Linked DNA regions of Homo sapiens: region 2 is linked to region 1. The links are contacts of gene promoters, found by promoter capture Hi-C in blood cells and fetal thymus (Javierre and others, 2016). All regions are on one chromosome and are shown on one strand. The core of a region is centred on a gene start or on the middle of the fragment in contact, and the rest is flanking DNA. Distances in the headings are between cores, read along the strand shown. Region 1 holds the start of PROKR1 (prokineticin receptor 1). Region 2 has its middle 17 kb from the start of GKN2.

Evidence for each region. Contacts are between HindIII fragments. The CHiCAGO score rates a contact against its expected background, and 5 or more counts as called.
Region 2: a fragment that was not itself captured here is called in contact with the fragment with the promoter of PROKR1 in region 1 in 1 of 17 cell types (non-activated CD4 T cells); the score reaches 5.3 in non-activated CD4 T cells.

Annotation. Positions count from the first base shown.
Region 1 is chr2:68,641,679-68,645,523 of GRCh38, forward strand. It overlaps PROKR1 (prokineticin receptor 1), which reads left to right and starts at 1,901. Exons shown (of 3, transcript NM_138964.4): 1 at 1,901-2,170. The HindIII fragment of the contact is 2,701 bases long and covers 1-2,533 here.
Region 2 is chr2:68,934,181-68,937,733 of GRCh38, forward strand. No RefSeq gene overlaps it. Among named protein-coding and RNA genes, the nearest start is that of GKN2, 17 kb to the right of the region's middle. The HindIII fragment of the contact is 9,532 bases long and covers 1-3,553 here.

The DNA of each region.
Region 1 (3,845 bases), core at 651-3,150:
AGGAGCAGCTATTTTTCTTACGTTAATAATGTAAAAAAAAAGGGCTTCATTGACATGGTTAAGTTCCCAGGACCCATGCCAGGCCTGGTGGCTCATGCTTGTAATCCCAGCATTTTGGGAGGCTGAGGTGAGAGGATTGCTTGAGGCCAGGAGTTTGAGACCAGCCTGAGCAACCTAGCCAGACCCTGTTTTAACAAAAAAATAAAAATAAATAAATAAAATAGAAAAATTCCCAGGATCCTTAGTCCTTTAGAGATGGACTAAATGTCTGCCATCATTACAAAAGCATCTTGAACGTGATGGAGCTTATGCTGAGAGCTAAAGTTTATGTATTTTTATCTTTTAATTCCATTTTCCCACAAACTTTTGGAAGTTCCCATGTGAGTGTATGTGTGTATGTGGAGCATTTTGTTTGTCCCTTCATCATTGATGGACATTTGGATTGTTTCCATGTTTTCGCTATGGTGAATAATGCTGCTATGAACATGGATGTACAAACATGCCTTTGAGACCCTGTGTATTAGTTCACTTGCACACTGCTGATAAAGACATACCGGAAACTGGGAACAAAAGGAGGTTTAATTGGACTTACAGTTCCACATGACTGGGGAGGCCTCAGAATCAAGGCAGGAGGTGAAAGGCATTCCTTACGTGGTAGCATCAAGAGGAAACTGAGGGAGAAGCAAAAGTGGAAACCCCTGATAAACCCACAGGATCTCGTCAGGCTTATTCACTATCACGAGAATAGCATGGGAAAAACAGGCTCCCATGATTCAATTACCTTCCCCTGGGTCCCTCCCACAATACGTGGGAATTCTGGGAGATACAATTCAAGTTGAGATTTGGGTGGGGACACAGCCAAACCGTATCACCCTGCTTTTAATTTTTTGGGTTAGACACCCGGAAGTGGAAACACTCGATCATATGGTAATTGTATTTTTTAACTTTTTGAGGAAACCCTATACTGTTTTCTACAGTGGCTTCACCATTTTACTTTCCTACCGACAGTGCACAGGGTTCCAGTTTCTCCACATTCTCACCAACACTTGTTATCATTTCTTTTTACAGCTGGATAATATTCTATTGCATGTATATACTATATGTATTTTGTTAATCCACTTAGCTGATGGACATTTGGGTTGTTTCTGTCTTTTGGCTACTGTGAATAGTGCTGCCATGAACATCAGTGTATGTGTGTCCCTGCTTTCAATAGTTTGGGGTTACATACCTTGGAGTGGGATTGCGGGACTATATGCCTCACGTTTTGAGGAATCTATGGGCTTGTAAAGGTAGACTGTGCTCTGTAAGTCAGCGCTGTCCGTCCCAGCCTTCTAAGCAGACATCCCTGGGCGGGGGTCCTTCCTCTCTCCAGTGTGCTACCCCGCCCCCTTGTTTGCTCTCCAGAAAGCACTTCTCTGAGCCTCTTTTACGGAGAGGTAGGGCAGCTGGCAACAAAGATGGCCCTGGTGTCCGTTCAGGCTGGCCCAGGGGACCAGGTTGGGGCCGGCCCCTGAGTGTCCCCTGAGGAGGTGTGTGAGCAGCGGGGGAGGCTCCTCGGTCCTTTGCAAGCTCGCGGCTGAGCGGGGCCGTGTCCGTCCACTCCGACGGCGCTGGGCTGCCAAGGTGAGCCGCCGAGGAGCCCCGTGCCCCGAGGCGGGCACAGCCGCCCTGCATGGGTGCCCCCGGCGCGGGATTGACGCAGAGCCCTGCCCGGAGCCCCAGCGACCCCGTTCCTGCCCCAGGCGGCCGTTCCGAAGCCTGAGCCGGGCAACGCGCAGCCCGCCTGGCCCGGCTCCCTCCCGCGCGTCCTCGTCGCGAGCTGCCGCCTGGGAGCTCCAGACGCTCCCGCCCAGGGCGATCCGGACGCTCCCGCCCAGGGCGATCCCGGCCTCTGCAGCCCAGCTGGCGACACGCCTCGCCAAGAGCCCGCACCTCGGCGCCTCACGGCCACCGGAGGCGGGGACAGGGAGTCCGGCGCGGGCCGGGTCGGGGGATCTGCAGCGGCGGCGCGAAGGTAACTCCCCCGCCAGAGCCGGGAAAGAGCCCCGAGCAGAGGAGGAAGGGAGCGGGGACCTGCCCTTCGCCTGCCGGCTTCTGGAAGAAGCGTCTCCTGATCCGGCCCCGGAATAAGAAACCCGGACCTTGCCTGCCGGGCTCCGCGATGCCGCAGGTACAGAGCGCGCCCTCCCGGGGAGGATGCTCCAGGGACCCCGCGCTGCACTGGCTGCGGCCGTGGGGTGCGGCGGCTTCTGAGTGAAGAGGGGACTTTGCCAGGGATTCACTCCTGTGAGTTTCTTCAGGAGAGCCAGGCTTCCCCTCCTCTGTCCTTAGGGGAAGCTGCCCAGGCTCCAGGGAGAAAGTTGGGAGCAGGCGGGGGACTTGCCAGCAGGGGTTTGTGAGAGAGGCTTCTAGCGATCGAGAGGTCACCAGGTGGGGGTAGGATTGGGGTTCCCCTCTGAACGGTGAGAATAAAGGAGAAAAGACCTCTGGACAATCATCCTTAATCTCGTGACGCCCTCCTCTCCACCCCCGAAGCTTCTGTATTCTTTGCTTTTAAACACTACTTTGACCCTTCAGGTAGCATGCTTGTAGGGGTACCCCTCCAGGAGTGGCATGCCTCTGCGACCCACGGGACCTGCAAGGAGTGGGGCTTGTCCCGCCTGGGTTCCAAGCCTGCCCCCCTCCTTCTTTTCAGCTGAGTTCTGCCTCTCCTCCCTGAGTGGGCAGAGGGCAAGGGCTGAGCCAGACAGAATTGAGAGCTCGGAGGAAGGAAAAAATCAGGGTAAGGAGTTAGGACAGAGAGGCAGCAATGGGGCTGAGCCTCACTGGGGCGCAGAGGGACTTTAAACTTGGCCCCAAGAAGACAGGCTCCAGATGTTTTGCCTCGGAGGAATATGGAGAGCAGGCTTTCCTGGGGGTGGGGAGGTGGGGTCCTGGGCATCTTCCTCATCTTCCTTTCCCAGGAAAACTCTGGCTTGCATTCTTCCCTCTGTTCTCCTGACATTTGTTTTAGGGTGCTCTCCAGACCTCAGCCCTCCTTCTACGTCCCACTCCCTGGTCTGATGTCTTCAGGGTTTGGGAGGGACTGCAGGGAGAGAGCAGGGGACAGGGGGACTCTGGCTGCCTCCCTGTCCCCACCAGGGCAGCTGACACCCCCCTAGACCCCTCACCCCAGCCCCATTATGTGGTGTGGTGGAGTCCCTGTATCAGGATTTCGCTCCCCTTCCTTGCAGCTGACAGAGGAGGCCTGAGAGCGCAGTAGTAACTCCTTGCAGTTCTAGGGTGTAACACTCTCCTCCAGGGAGCTCCAGGCTGTGCAGACATTATTGATCTCCTGCCTGGCAGAAGTTGAACCTCTGAGTGTTTAAGCTATTTACCCCTGGACACTCAACCAGCCAAGGAAAAATTTTGCTCTAGCGTCCCCATTCTCATCACTTGGTTAGTCACAGGCTGTGACTTTACCCTACAGCCTCTGTCTGGGGACAGGCCTTCATAAATGCTGTTCCCAGCTTCTAGGGTCATAGCAGGTTCTAATGTGGGAACAGGAAGTCCAGCAAATAGTGAGGAAGGTGGCTGCTCTATGGCTCTGTGATTTTAGAGCCATGTTCTGCCAGAAGAGCAAGGAGAGCAGACAGGCTTGTCTGAAAGCCCTCCCTCTTAAATAGCATTTAAAGAAATTTCTTTCTCTTCAGCCTCCCCACACTCCCAACTTTTGTCCTTGAGAAAAGGTGCAACACTTCTGAGTCTTCAGTGGAACAGAAATAAACTGAGCCAGTGCTTGATTGTCTCTATAGCAATCCACCCTTCCCTAATTGAGTATGTGGTTTTCATTCATTTTCTCTCAT
Region 2 (3,553 bases), core at 230-2,729, 290 kb after region 1:
TCTACTTATAACTCATTGGCAGGAACCGAGATCATATGGCCACCCACAGGCCAATCATAGACTGAGGAAAATGATACTGCTTTATTGTCTTAAAAGAAACCAAGACTGATTTAGCCCAGGGCTTTCTCAGCCTTGGCACTGTAAACATTTGAAGCCAGAACATTCTTTGTTGTAGGGCGGTGCCCTGGGCATTGTAGGATATTTAGCAGCATCTCCGGTGTCTACCCATTAGATGCCAATAACGTACCCTCCAGCTGTAACAATCAAAAATATCTCCAAACACCACTAGACGTCTCCAGGGGAGGGGAGAAAAATCACACCCCAGTTGAAAACTACTGATTCAGACTAATCATGATTAATCCCCTGGAACTAAAGGAATATATTTTCTAAAATTAAGGGCTTTTTTTTTGTTGCTACTTAAATTGGAGCTGTGGGGTTGGGTAATCAATGGACTGGTTTTGCCACAGAGTATTAGACAACTCTTACCAGCAATAGATGAATAAGCATTTCTTTTAAAGGTCATATCCTCGTTAGTTTCTGCCTGTTTGGGGTAACTTTATTGTCTTCAAATGGCTACTATTTATATTTTTTTCCAGGTTTACAATTGTTATGGAAGGCATGTTAGTCTGATATAAGCTACTTCATCATTATTAGAAGCTAGAAGTCTCAATATTTTATTAATTCACCAATTTATATTTATTATGTTTGAGTTAACAAATGCTTGAATTCATTCATTGAGTCAGTTATCCAAACAGACATTTGTATAATAAAGTATTTGTCTGGGTCCATGTATTCTAATCCTGGGAGCTCTGAATGAACAAATCCTATTTAATTCTATCTCAGATGAGCAAACGAGTTTGCGTGACATGTGACATGTCATTTACTGTAAGAAACACAATTGTATGGGAAATAACAAAAATAAGAACCTCATCTACATGCCTCACCCAGCTTCCTGCAAAAGCTCCATTGGCACACTCATATCCTGGGCCCAGTTGCTCCTTCAGGCCAGCTTTTTTTTAAAAAAAAAAAAAAAACACAAACATCAGTATATTTTATGTGCATACATATGAAAAGGAAGACAGAGGGACCAATGAAGACTCAGAGCAGGCAGTACGCACACACACTGGTCATGTGTCCTTTTCAAGAGCTGCCCATTTGGGAGACAGTCTCACCCACCTCAAAGGTCCTTTTGCAGAGCCAGGGCCTGCAGCTCCTCCAGGTCTGGGGTGGCCTCAAGGTGGAAGGTACTCTCCCTGCTGCAGCTCCTCTAAGGGCTGGGCCTCTTACTTGTCTTCACTGAGGATGATGCCTACACACTCCAGAGCTTCATAAATGCAGGTTCTCATGAACTGATCCACTCAGTGGATGCCTTCCCAGGAGATCCATGCGGAGTGAGGGACCAGGACTAAAGGGTTTCGTGGGCACTCCCTAGGTATTACTGCTGTGAATAAGCATAGACCATTGTGACTCACTGGCATCGAAGAGGGCATAGGGCACATGGGACGGGATGCCTAGCAGATGTCAGAAGCGGTTCAACCATGCAGGGCAGCACATTGTTGTCTGTAACTTAGAGATGCTGCTGTGTCCAGTGGAGAGAGACCCAGGACAGCAGAGGTTCATGAACAGCCAGCAGACACTCCCCACCAGCACCCCTACTGTTTGGCAGGGCTGTGATTACTCCAAACTTTGAATCCCTGGGCACTAAGGGATTGGGGATCTAATACCCTGCAAAGCAAGTTGAAGTCTGGGCTATCACTAGTGAGATCTGAACCAGTATATCCCGTGGTCAGACAGGCAGCATTGCATTTGCTGTCTCCCTTTGCTGAAGGATTGATGCCCTATGACGGGAAATGGGAGCAACAGGACACCTAGATGAAGCAGCAAACACAATGCTGGATGTTGCCAAGCACACAGGTGTACCCCAGAACCTCCTGCACTTGGGAGCTTACAGGACCCAGAGAGAAAATGGTGCCAGGGAATGCCCACAAGTCCACATCTGAAGCAGCGAGACCCGCTGGGCCATCCGAGGGCTAGCTCTGGCTGAGAATTAAGGAAGTATCAATAAGCTGGTCACTGGACTCAGTTGTGGAATGGGAGTGTGAAGGTGGGTGGTGTGGTCTAGGGGCCCACATGGAAGACCTGGAGGGGTACTGGGATCCAGGAGACTGAGACAACATGGAGCTGGGGAGAGAACCAAGGAAACAACCCAGAGAGAACAGTGAAGCCAGACAGTATTCTCCTTCTGGAATCTTCTCCAACTGTAGATGAGAAGCAGTCTACCTCCCCCCGCCCCACCCCACTGAAAGCCTGGTTCCCTGTAACCCTCAAAGCCCTGGAATTGGTACCATAATAAAACCAAAAGGAGAGCTGGCCCTGCAGAAAGTATTAATAGTTCATCCCTGGATTTGAGGAGCCTGCCCAGGCAGGAAACAGGCTGGGAAATTCCCTTCATTCTGCCCAGGAGATGGCTAATTGCAGAAAAATCCTGCCAAAGGCAGAGTCTGCAAGCCTTTCTCCAGAACTGGGACACCACTGCTTCCCTTCCCACCACAGCCTGCCCCAGCCTGCACCCCGGGTGGTGCTATCTACAAGGTGCAGGTAGGGAAGCCAGCAGGGAAGAAATTAGCCTTCTCCTTTTTAAAAATCATTTTAAAAGTGGCAATATCTGCTGTGGAGTGTGGTAGTACCACTTTTTAAGTGATTCATAAAAAGGGAAATGCTAATTTGTACTTGAGTCCTAGTGTGGTCAAGAAGGGACCATGTACCATGGGATGGGCCACTTTCTAAAAGTCCCTACCCCTCGGGGAATGAGGAACAGAGCTGAAGTAGGCTAGAGTAAGGATTTTACCTGTCCACTGCCAGCAAAGGACCTGTCACAGGAGAAAGGGGGTTGGGGAAACCAAGATGACAATGCCTATAAGTGTGGCATGGTTAATACTGTGTAAGGAGTAAGCTCAAAGCATCAGCCTCACTGGGAGGGGTGTGGAGAGAGGGGAAGCCCTGAGGAGGTTTTGCTACAGGGCTGGGAGTATGGCCAAACCAGAACTAATCCCCTCCCACAAACCATTCTCCAAAGAGCCTTCCACAGCTGAAAGGTCCTCCTCTCTCTTTCTCCCCCGTTCTCCATGGGTTTCCAATGCTGGATACCTGCTCCTCCATCCCGCAGAAAGCTAGATTGCTCGGCTGGCTTGAAAATAAACTAGTCAGGGCACAGATGACCTAGAACTCTGCCTTTTCCCTATCAAACTAACTTGCCTCTAGGTCCCCATTGTGGATCCACAAGGCCATTCCAGCCTGACTGTGCATTGGAGGATACCATCAGTTCTCAGCTGGGCCACTATGAGGAGAGAGCACTGCCAGAACCCACTAGACTCTGGGCAGGGAGGCATAACTCAGCTCAAGCCAGCTTTTGTAGTCTGACCAACTCTTCCAGCATCCTGGGTGCTTTGTGGTATTCGGTCCAGGTTTGCTCCTTCTCCCTGATGGCCCAGAGAGGGTCTCTGGCTTGAGCATCCAGTAAGTTAACGGAGTCGATGTCTACTTTTTTCAGTCT